Regions from separate parts of the Homo sapiens genome. Here region 2 is linked to region 1. Evidence: promoter capture Hi-C in human tissues and cell types (Jung and others, 2019). All regions are on one chromosome and are shown on one strand. Each heading gives the region's core, a stretch centred on a gene start or on the middle of the fragment in contact. The rest is flanking DNA. Distances are from core to core; before and after follow the strand shown. Region 1 holds the start of ULK1 (unc-51 like autophagy activating kinase 1). Region 2 has its middle 27 kb from the start of MMP17.

Evidence for each region. Contacts are between HindIII fragments. The study calls those that stand out against the background at their distance.
Region 2: a contact is called between a fragment that was not itself captured here and the fragment with the promoter of ULK1 in region 1, in 1 of the 25 tissues and cell types used here (dorsolateral prefrontal cortex).

The regions. Positions count from the first base shown.
Region 1 is chr12:131,892,322-131,897,635 of GRCh38, forward strand. It overlaps ULK1 (unc-51 like autophagy activating kinase 1), which reads left to right and starts at 2,301. Exons shown (of 28, transcript NM_003565.4): 1 at 2,301-2,791; 2 at 3,280-3,372; 3 at 3,462-3,503. The coding sequence starts at 2,681. It overlaps LOC124903059 (a long non-coding RNA gene), which reads right to left and starts at 1,837. Exons shown (of 2, transcript XR_007063538.1): 1 at 1,526-1,837; 2 at 737-1,254. RefSeq lists silencers at 1,971-2,020, 2,051-2,560, 3,628-3,777, 3,703-3,997, 3,968-4,027 and 1 more and an enhancer at 4,485-5,282. The HindIII fragment of the contact is 30,695 bases long and covers 1-5,314 here.
Region 2 is chr12:131,852,646-131,857,959 of GRCh38, forward strand. No RefSeq gene overlaps it. Among named protein-coding and RNA genes, the nearest start is that of MMP17, 27 kb to the left of the region's middle. RefSeq lists an enhancer at 3,289-3,840. The HindIII fragment of the contact is 9,300 bases long and covers 1-5,314 here.

The DNA of each region.
Region 1 (5,314 bases), core at 1,051-3,550:
GAGACTCCGTCTCAAAAAAAAAAAAAAGAAAATAGGACACAAAGAAGGGAACAAGAGACACCAGGTCCCACTTGAGGGTGGGAGGGTGGGAGGAGGGAGAGAGGATCAAAAAACTACTTATCGGGTACTCTGCTTATTACCTGGGTGATGAAATAATCCGTTCATCAAACCCTGTGAAACATAATTTACCTGTATAACAAACCTGTCCACACACCACTGAACCTAAAAGTTATAAAAAGAATAAAAAATTTAATAAGACCGCACAAAACAAAAAAGAAACATGTCCTTCCTCGGTGGGCCTAGTAACGGTTTCCAAATGCAAATCCCATCTTGCCATCCCACCCTCTCCTAAACTCTTCCTGGGTATTTCTTTGAGTTTGGGGTGAAGACCCCGTTAGCTTGGCTTTCCAGGCCAGGGTGGGCTGGGCTGGGGTTCCCTGAGTACTTTCCAGGAGTACAGGCTTCGCCATCTCTAGCAATCTCGGCCCTCACGGTCTGCCCTGATCACCTCAGCACGTAGCCACCTGTTCACTCATTTTTCTCTTGCAATTTTGCCACGGGTGGTGCAATCTTTGCTCTTCTTGTCCCCCACCCCTAAGCGCTGGGAGCTCCTGCAGGCGGGTCTTGTTCTCACTGTGTCAACTGCAGCACTTACCTCGCAGCGTGTGCTCTCTGGGCAGGCCGGTGTGCAGCAGGCACTCCAGGATGTGAGTGAATGCTATGGCTGACTACGGGGCACTGTGGAACCTCTTTATTGGGAAAACAAACATGGTGGGCCAGGAGACCTCTTGTCCCTTCCAGCTCGGTGGCTTCTGGCCCCCAGTCCAGGGTCGGGAGTCTGTGTGTCCTGCGGCCTGGAGGATGAGCTGGGTGCAGGTAAAAGGCATCCAGGACTTGCTGATCCAGCCCAGGGCATCAGGCTGTCCAGCTGCTGGGCTGCTCTGGGAGGCAGCATGGAGGGTCCTGGCTGAAGTGTGTGTTTCTGGGCTGTTACTTTAGGACTGTACTGAAGGCTGGGTTGGTGAGCATTGTTTAGAATCATGCATTTGCAAAAGCAGTGCTTGCACGTGGTGAAAGCCATTCCAACTAGCGCGCAACGTGTACGGTGAACAGCACTAACTTTTCCCCGGTCCTCTCTCCCAGAGCAATCGCTGTTGGCTGTGTCTTCTGTGAGTGAGCCCCCGGGCTCTTTTGGCTGCCGGCGGTGTGACTTTGGACACATTCTCCAACTTTTCTCCGCCTTGATTTCCTCATCTGTAAAACAGGGACATAACAGCAAGTGCCTCGTGGAATCATTGAATGGATGCACTAATCGCTGGAAAGTGCGCTGCTTGGCCTAAGTGATGAGTTAGCTGTCATTATAGTTAGGAACGACCATGTACACATTACAGGCGTTTCACACACACACACATCCCAATCCTACCGCTTTCTTAAAACGACAGACAGTACAGTGCCCTGTTCCATATTTTGCTTTTACTTAATTATAATCTTTGGAGAACTCACCCTTGAGCACAGGTATATTTACCTCTGTGCAGTGTTCCACAGGACCGATGCGCAGCCCATCTAGCTAACCTTTCCTCCCCAGCGGATTTATGGGCTATGTCGTTGGTTTGGGTGACAACTTTTTGGTCTACAATTTTTTTTTTTTTTTTTGCAATTTGGCATTATGGAACTCAACTTTAAATGCCTAACCTCTAACTCAGCCATTCTATTTCTAAGAATTAATTCTGCGCAGTCCCCCGTTTTGGGAACATTTCCCACGCCTGTTCTCCATTCTCCTGTAGAAGGGGAACAGGGAGCGGGAAGGAGGGGAACAGGGAAGGGGAGGGAGGGGAACAGGGAGGGGGGACAGGAGGGAGGAGAACAGGCAGTGGGGGCGGGAGGGGAGCGGGGGGGAAGGCATGGGAGGGGGCGGAAGGGAGGGGGCAGGGAGGGAGAGAGGTGATGGGAAGGGGAAAAGGAGGGAGGAGGACGGAGAGAGGGGAAAGGAGGGAGGGGAGCAGAGAAGAAGCGGGGCGGGGAAGGGGCGGGGAAGGGGCGTGGAAGGGAGTGGGGCAAGGAATCAACACTGAGCCCCGTGGCCCGCTCCCGGGTCAGCGCGCCTCTCTGCTCTCACCGGGGCGGGTCCGCTGTTGGCCCCACCCACTCCCAGCCCACCCGGCCCCGCAATGGCCCGGCCCAGCCGCCCACCCCCCCGACAGGCCCCGCCCCATTCCCCGCCCCCCGTCTGTTCGTCACGCCCGGCTCTGCCGCTCCGTCCCGCAGGCCCCGCCCTCATCCCGCCTCCCGGCCCGGCGCGCAGTGCGGCTGCGCGGGCGTCTCAGGCTCTGAGGCCCGGGCGCCGCGGCTCTTTTGTTTCTCCGTTGGGGCCGAGCCCGGGCCCTAGTTGGAGCCGGAGTCGGAGTCGGAGTCGGATCCGGATTCGGATTAGCAGCCCGGGAAGAGTGCCGTGGCACAGGCGCCGGAGGGAGCGCGACCCTCGGACCCCGCCTGGCCCGCGGGGCTGGGACCCGGCCCCGGCCTGCCCGATGGGGCGCGCGGCCCCGGAGATGCGCCCTCGCCCGGCCCCGCGCCCCCGGCCCCGCGCCCCCGGCCCGCCCGCCCCGGCCCGCGCCTCCGCCTGAGTCCCCCGCGCCTTGGCCCGCCACCCCCCGCCCCGCGCCCCCGGCCCGCCTGCGCCATGGAGCCCGGCCGCGGCGGCACAGAGACCGTGGGCAAGTTCGAGTTCTCCCGCAAGGACCTGATCGGCCACGGCGCCTTCGCGGTGGTCTTCAAGGGCCGCCACCGCGAGGTGAGGCCCCCGTCCGGCCCGGGATCCCCCGCCCAGGATCCCCTGCCCCTGCATCCCCGCCCCGAGATTCCCCGCCTGTCCCGGGACCCCCCCACGCCTCCCGAGAGCCCCACTCGACTTTCCAGGCCGACCCCCACCCCAGGATCCCCACCCCGCGACCCCCAGCCCGACTTTCCAGTTCAGACTCCCGCCCCGAGATCCGCTGCCGGGCTTTCCAGCCCAGATCCTCACTCCGAGACCCCCAGCCCGACTTTCCTGTCCAAACCCTCACCCCGGGACACCCCGCAACCTGGTCCCACAGCCGGCTTTCGAGGCTGGATCCCTACCCCAGGACCCCCAGCGCGATCCTCAACCTGGCTCCCCACTCGGCCTTCCAGTCCCGGGATTCCCAACCGGGATCATCTCAGGGCCCCACCTGTGTGGACTGGGGTCTGGGGGAGGCCTGCGAGGGGCAGCCCTGGCCTTGAAGGTGCACGTTTGGCTTTCAGAAGCACGATTTGGAGGTCGCCGTCAAGTGCATTAACAAGAAGAACCTCGCCAAGTCTCAGACGCTGCTGGGGAAGGAAATCAAAATCCTGAAGGTGAGCCAGTGCTGGGGGAGGGGGCGTGGGCGTGGGCGTGGGCAAGCCCCCCTCCCCACACTGATAACAAACTTGGGTTTCTGTCCTAGGAACTGAAACATGAAAACATCGTGGCCCTGTACGACTTCCAGGTAAGGCCTCTGGGCTGCGGTCTGCTGGGGACCGGGCTGGGGGACTGTGGCCCCAGGTGCTGGATCCCCTGGTGAGCACTGGTGTTGAGCCTGTCCAGGCTGGGGTCTACTGGGCCCCTGGAGACTCCACCCTGGGTCCAGGCCTGGGCTGGTGCTGGCTCTTGCTGTGACTTCCCCAGCTGTGAGACCGGGGAGGGGGTGTCTGGGCCGCAGGGCGCCCCAGGGCAGGGCTGAGTTCTCCTGAACAGGCATCCCCTCCCCGCCGGGCGTCAGTCCTAGGGGCCCTGCCTGAGTCCGGCGTCCCCGGCTGGCCCTGGCAGCACTGCCGGCCTGGCCCACCTGTCTAGGCCGTGTGTTTGTTGACATTGCTCCTGCGGCCGGCATTGGCCGGCCTCGCTCTGCGTCAGACGGGGCGGGGGAGGGGCCGCCGGAGACTCCTGCTCGCTGGCAGTCAGGGCCGGGCCGGGGCACAGGCGGCTGCCGCTGGCTGGCCAAGGAGATGACCTCGGGCCCGGCTGGCCCCAAGAAGCAAGCGGTGGGACCAGCTGGCTTTCGTGCTGCCTCCGTGTCCCGGGGCCCAGGGCAGGCAGGGCTGGGGCTGTGGGAGCCAGGGTGCCGTCCTGGGGACCAGGAACCTGAGGCGGGAGATCCGCCCCGCCAAAGTGCTGACTAATGGCTCTGTGACCTGTTTACTGAGCCCAGGGCCCAGCCCCTGGCTGAGGGAAGGGCTGGCAGGCCGTGTTTTGGTGGCCTCCTCCGTCCGCCTCTCAGAGCTTTGCTGTGGCCTTGGGGACCGAGGCTTGTCACAAGGTGCCGGGTGGGGGGGGCCCAGGTCCAGCGAGTACCTGGAAACCCAGGCACACTGTGTCCTGGAGCTGGGCCATCCCTCCTGCTGCTTTTCCCGCCCTCTTCCCACCCCTTTTCTCCCTGCTTTCCTCCCTCCCTTCCTCCTCTTTCCTCATCCTCTCCATGTTTGGAAGCCTCCTGCCTGGACCACAGCCTGCACATGCGTCATGGCTCTGGGAGCCAGCAAGGAGTGGACAGCTGTCCCTGGCCAGGCAGCGACTCTGAGGGACTCCCCCTCCACCCTGGGCTACACTGCCTGCTGCTCCCCTCCAGGGCTCCCCAGGTCCAGTCCTGGGCATCTCCAGGCCAGGCCCTGTGACTGTCCGCACGACCCCCGCAGACCCGGGACCAGTATCCCCAGGCCCAGCTCCATCCCAGTCAGCCACACACACCTGGTTGTGGGCATCTGCCACTTCCTCCAGTGTTGGCAACTCTGCGGCTTTCTCTACTCAGGAAGCACTTGGAGCCGCCAGCTGCAGGCGCTCCTGTCTCCGGGCACCGGGCTCTGCTGGAGCTGCAGCTTAGCCTGCCCTCGCCCCCACAGGCGTGGGGATTGTTGCCCTGTGTCGGTAAGGCAATGTTTGAGGCAGGCACCCAAACCCAGGAAAAAATAACTGGGTTTTAAAAATGGACAATGAACGATTTGGGTGATAAAAGAAAATCCTCAAACATTACGGGAGGGAGTGCGGTCGAGGCTAGAGTCCTGCCCCCGATCGAGTCCCGCTGCCCTCCGTTCTCAGGCCCCTGCTTTAGTTGTTTCCGGGCCACCGGGGACAGCCATCCTTACAAGGCGATGTGTTCACCGGTGTCCTTCCCCGCCACACCCACCTCTCTGCGCCGTGAATTTTGTCACTTAAGAGTATAGTTTGCACTCCATCCAGCCTGGGCGACTGAGCGAGGCCCTGTCTCTAAAAGAGTAGAGCTTGGGGAAGGTTCTGTGCTGGCTCAATCCATATCAGAAAGTT
Region 2 (5,314 bases), core at 1,929-4,428, 39 kb before region 1:
GAGCGGCTGGGGCCACCCAGGGTGCAGATGAGGCTTCCTGGCACCCAGGAGCCAAAGCCCACAGCCCCCTTGTCCCATCCCAGGGATGGCACCCATCCCAGGATGAGGCTGCCAGGGCCGGGCAGGCAGGCCCCAGGCCAGGCCTCATGGAGCCGGGCCACCTCCCCGTGAAGAGAGGCCACATCCTCATGGAGTCCAGCCGTGTCCTCTGTCCCCCGCCTGTTCACCATCTGCTCCCTGGAGCAGGAGGAGTCCCTGCCTGTCAGACCAGTCTGTGGAAAGACCGACCTCCCTCCTGTCTGTCGGGGACACTGGCTCTGCCCTGCACCAAGTGGTGTTTCCTCATCACGCTTTGTTGCCCAGCAGCCTGTGGGGTGAATTCCCCCGTGCAGCTGGCCCAGCCCCGTGGTCCCCACGTCCTGGGTCGTGCCCCAGTGCAAAGCCGGCTGTGGGCCTTGTCTGCTGAGTCGGGCTCTCACGTTGGCAGGGCTCACTGCGGTTTTGAAGTCCAAACTCTCCGTCATAAGCCTCTTCTGCCGGTCCTATCTCTGGTGAAGAGGTGAACCGTAGGCGGGGCAGGGGGGCTGCTCTGAACTTGCCTCTCCATGCTGCAGCCCACCTCCCTCTGGCAGTGGGGTGGCCGTGCTGGGTCCTGGGGCAGGGCCTGGAGCCCCGCCAGCCCATGACGCATTTCATGAGCCCCCACCTTTTGATATGCACATGCAGCTGAGGCTACCCTGACCCCACATTCAAAGTCGGAAATCCCCAAAACCCAAGACCTTTTGAGCACTGATGGGCTCGGGGTGCACACAGAACATTTGGGATTTCACTTTTTTTTTTTTTTTTTTTTTTTTTGAGACAGAGCCTGTCGCCCAGGCTGGAGTGCAGTGGTGAGATCTCAGCTCACTGCAACCTCCGCCACCCAGATTCAAGTGATTCTCCTGCCTCAGCCTCCCGAGTAGCTGGGATTACAGGCAGGCACCACCACGCCTGGCTAATTTTTGTATTTTTAGTAAAGACAGGGTTTCAGCATGTTGGTCAGGCTGGTCTCGAACTCCTGACCTCAGGTGATCCACCCGCCTCAGCCTCCCTGAGGTGAGGCTAGGATTACAGGCATGAGCCAACACACCTGGCCAAGTGGCAGTATTTGAAAAAAGAAAAGCAGAGAAAAATGCTCAACCTGTAAGTATAATGCAAATATAGTGTCCAAACTCCAAACAATCTGAGCTCCAAAACACTTTTCTGGTCCTGCGCGTCTCGGATGAGGAACACGCGGGCAGGGCGTGTTGTTTTGTGGAAAGGATCTCATGTTCATAGAAAGCTGCACCCGCAGCATGAGAGTCCTCTGCATCCTTTGGGAGGCGCTGACCACCCTGAGCTCGCTTCTGTGTCTCCTGGAACGCAGGTGTCCTCCCAAGGTCAGAGTTGGGAAAGACACGCAGCCAGTGGATCTCAGATCAGAGGATGCTGCAGGGACAGACCTCACCCAGGGCAGCCTTCTTTGGCCCGGCACAGCTCCCGGGCCTTCCCCGACCCCTGTGACCTCGCACCTATGAGGGCTGCCGGCCCGTCCTTCTGTGGTCCATGCCCCCGGCCTGTCCGCCTGCACCTTCCTCGTGATGGGACCTCGGTTCTGTGTCTTCAGCAGGCAGTTTTCCATCTTCGCCTGAGTCACCATCTAAACACCTGGAGACTTCACGTGACGTTCTGGATTTTCAGAGTCACTGCTTATACCTCAGGCTGTGCTGGCCCAACTTGGAGAAGCTGTGCCCCCAGGCCCAGGAGGCAGGGCATCGCCAGCCCACAGCCACAGTCAAAACCCTCCGAAGGAGGTCAGAGGACCCACGCCACCCCAGTGAGGGGCAAGGACCTCTTCCCTTCTTCCTTCCACCCCAGGGAGGTCAGCCTGGAGGCCCAGGGTCTCTCTTGAGCCACACGGCCGGGCCAAGGCACTGGCTGCCCTTAGCGTGACCCAGGCTTTTGACCAAAAACACACAGCCCCATGGGTGCTATACAACGCCTCTGCATGGGAGACCTCCGAGGCCAGGACACACCCTCTCCAGCTCCCATGATACAGGAAGGGAAACTGAGGCACGGTGTCTTAGCTCAGCTTGCCGTGACAGGCTGCTGTAGACCATGCGGCTTCCACATGGGTGACCTCTGAGGCCAGGACACACCCTCTCCAGCTGCCGTGTTACAGGGAGGGAAACTGAGGCACGGTGTCTTAGCTCAGCTTGCCGTGACAGGCTGCTATAGACTGTGCGGCTTCCACACAGGCATTTGCTTTCCCACCAATCTGCAGGAGTCTGAGGTCAGGATGCCGGCAGGGTCAGGTTCTTAGAGGCCCGCTTCCTGGTTCAAAGCCAGCACCTTCTCACTGTGTCCTCACAAGCCCGAGAGAGAAAGTGCTGGTCCCTTCACCCCCTACCAGGGCACCAATCTCATTGTGGGGGCTCCGCCCTCACGACCTCATCTAACCCAAATCGCCTGCCAAAGGCCCCCTCCTAACACCATCACACTAGCGGTCATGGTTTCAAAATGTGACTGGTGGCCGGGCACGGTGGCTTATGCCTGTAATTCCAGCACTTTTGGAGGCCAAAGTAGGAGGATCGCTTGAGCCCAGGAGTTCAAGACCAGCCTGGGCAACACAGCAAGACCCCATCTCTACTAAAAACTTAAAAACCACACACACACGCACACACACACACACACACACAAAGATGTCTGAGGAGACACAGACATTCAGTGCATAACATCCAGGGTGGATGGGCCAAGGCTGCCCGGTGGGTGGGTGGCCCCAGATCCCAGCCGCACCTGTCCCTCCCTGCCACCCTCCTGGCCTCCTTCAGAAACCCTGTGGGGAGTGGATTGTGGGGGCTTAGGAGGCTCTGGCGGGAGGCAGATCACCCCAAAGCAGCATGAGTGACAGCTAAGATGCCGGGCCTGCCCTGCGATCTGCGACTGCAAACTCACTGAATCCTGGCAGCGACACTGAGCGGAGGGACTGGGTTACTTCTGTTTCCCAGATGAGGAAACTGAGGCCCAGAGCTGGCAGAGAGCTGTCCGAGCCCAGGTGTTCAGGGAGGGGCGGAGCCAAGTGTGAAGCCAGCGGGCACACTCTGAGGTCGGGCTGAGAGCAGCACTCCCTTGCCCAGGCGGAGGGACCGCAGGTAGCAGGACACTCTCGTGGGAATCCTAAGGACGCCAGAGCACACCGCTCCGGGGCAGCCGAGCTGGACCCACAGGTGTGACTACAGCGCAAGCCAGGGCCGCCCCTCCCAGCTCCCGGGCCGTTTTTAGGGCGCCGTGGCTGCAGCGGGGCGGCTGGCTCTGGGCTGCTTCACCCCAAGCTGTGATGGGCCAGGGTGGCTCTGCACCCCGCCCCCCTGAGCCCAGGCCAGGCAGGCAGGACCCCCGCTGCGGCTGAGAAATGGGAGGAGCCGAGGAGACAGAGCCACTGCTGGCCACACTCTCCACCTCCACCGGGTCAGGGTCCTTCCACCGTGACTGCAGGACAGGACCCCCACGGCTTCTCCACTTAACAGCAGCAGGATCCTTGCCTTCTCGCTCGCTCTGTCACCCCCAGTCTGTTTCTCTGTCTCTGCCTCTCTCTGTCTCTGTCTGTATCTCTGTCTGTCTCTCCAACTCAGTCTCTATCTTTCTCTCTCCTTGTCTCTCTGTATCTCTGTCCCTCTCCCTGTCTCTTGTCTCTCTGTCTCTCTCCCTGTCTGTCTCTCCTTGTCTCTGCCTGTCTCTGTCTCTATATCTCTGTCTCTCCATCTGTCTCTCTCCCTGTCCCTGTCTCTCTCTGTCTCCCTCCCTGTCTCTGTCTCTCTGTCTCTATCTCTGTCTCTCTCCCTGACTCTCTCTCTCTGTGCCTCTCTGTCTCTGTCTCTCCTTGCCTCTGCCTCTCTGTCTCTATATCTCTGTCTCCCCATCTGTCTCTGTCTCTCTGTCTCTATCTCTGTCCCTCTCCCTGTCTCTGTCTCTCTCCCTGTCTCTGTCTCTCTGTCTCTCTCTCTCTGTCCCTCTCCCTGTCTCTCTGTCTCTGTCTCTCCTTGTCTCTGCCTGTCTCTGACTCTATGTCTCTGTCTCTGCATCTGTCTCTCTCTATCTCCCTGTCCCTGTCTCTCTCTCTGTCTCTCTGTCTCCCTCCCTCTCTCTGGAGGTTGCCTGGCCTCCGCCGCTGGTCTCCCCTGCACTTGCACCATGGTGGGGGGCCTGGCTTGCTCCTGTCGTATGGCAGTTGGCGCTGGCTCTGGCAGGAGCCTCCATGGGGCCTGGGCTCCTCCCAGCACTCGGCTGGTGCCATGCAGGTGCCTGCATTTCTGTCACTCTTTTTTTTTAGACGGAGCCTTGCTCTGTCACCCAGGCTGGAGTGCAGTGGTGTGATCTCGGCTCACTGCAACCTCCGCCTCCCGGGTTCAAGCCATTTTCCTGCCTCGGCCTCCTGAGTACCTAGGATTACAGGCACAGGCCACCACGCCTGGCTAATTTTTGTATTTTTAGTAGAGAAGCTTTCACCATGTTGGCCAGGCTGGTCTTGAACTTCTGACCTCAAGTGATCCACCCACCTCGGCCTCCCAAAGTGCTGGGATTACAGGTGTGAGCCACCACGCCCGGCCTTCTGTCACTCTTTATTTGCTCAACGAACACCTATTAAGCCACAGGCACTGTTCCAGGTGCTGGGGCCACAGCCTTGAACCAAACAGGCCAAATCCTTAATCTTGTGAAATCTTCTGTAAATCTTCCTGTATTCCAGTGGGGAAAAAAGGCAGCCAAGCAGATGGGGCTGTACCTGTGAGAGTGTGTCACCCGTGGGTGGAGTGTGCAGTGATCAGATGTTGGTAGGAAAATGAGGCAGGGGGGCGGTGTTTGTCGAGGAGGGAAGCCGAGCCTGCAGGAGCTGAAGGAGGCTGCACACAGGCCCTGCAGCCAGTGGTGTTGGGTGCTCTGGAGATCGCTGGGTGCTCTGGGAGGTGCTGGGTGCTCTGGGGAGGTGCTGTGTGCTGGGTGCTCTGGGGAGGTGCTAGGTACTCTGGGGAGGTACTGGGTGCTCTGGGGAGGTGCTGTGTGCTGGGTGCTCTGGGGCAGTGGTGGGTGCTCTGTGGTGGTGGTGGGTGCTGTGAGGAGGTGCTGGGTGCTCTGGAGAGGTACTGAGTTCTCTGGGGAAGTGGTGGGTGCTCTGGGTTGGTGCTGGGTGCTTTGGGGAGGTGCTGGGTACTCTGGGGCGGTTCTGGGTGCTCTGGGAAGATGCTGGGTACTCTGAGGCAGTGCTCTGGGGAGGTGATGGGTACTCTGGGGTGGTGCTGGA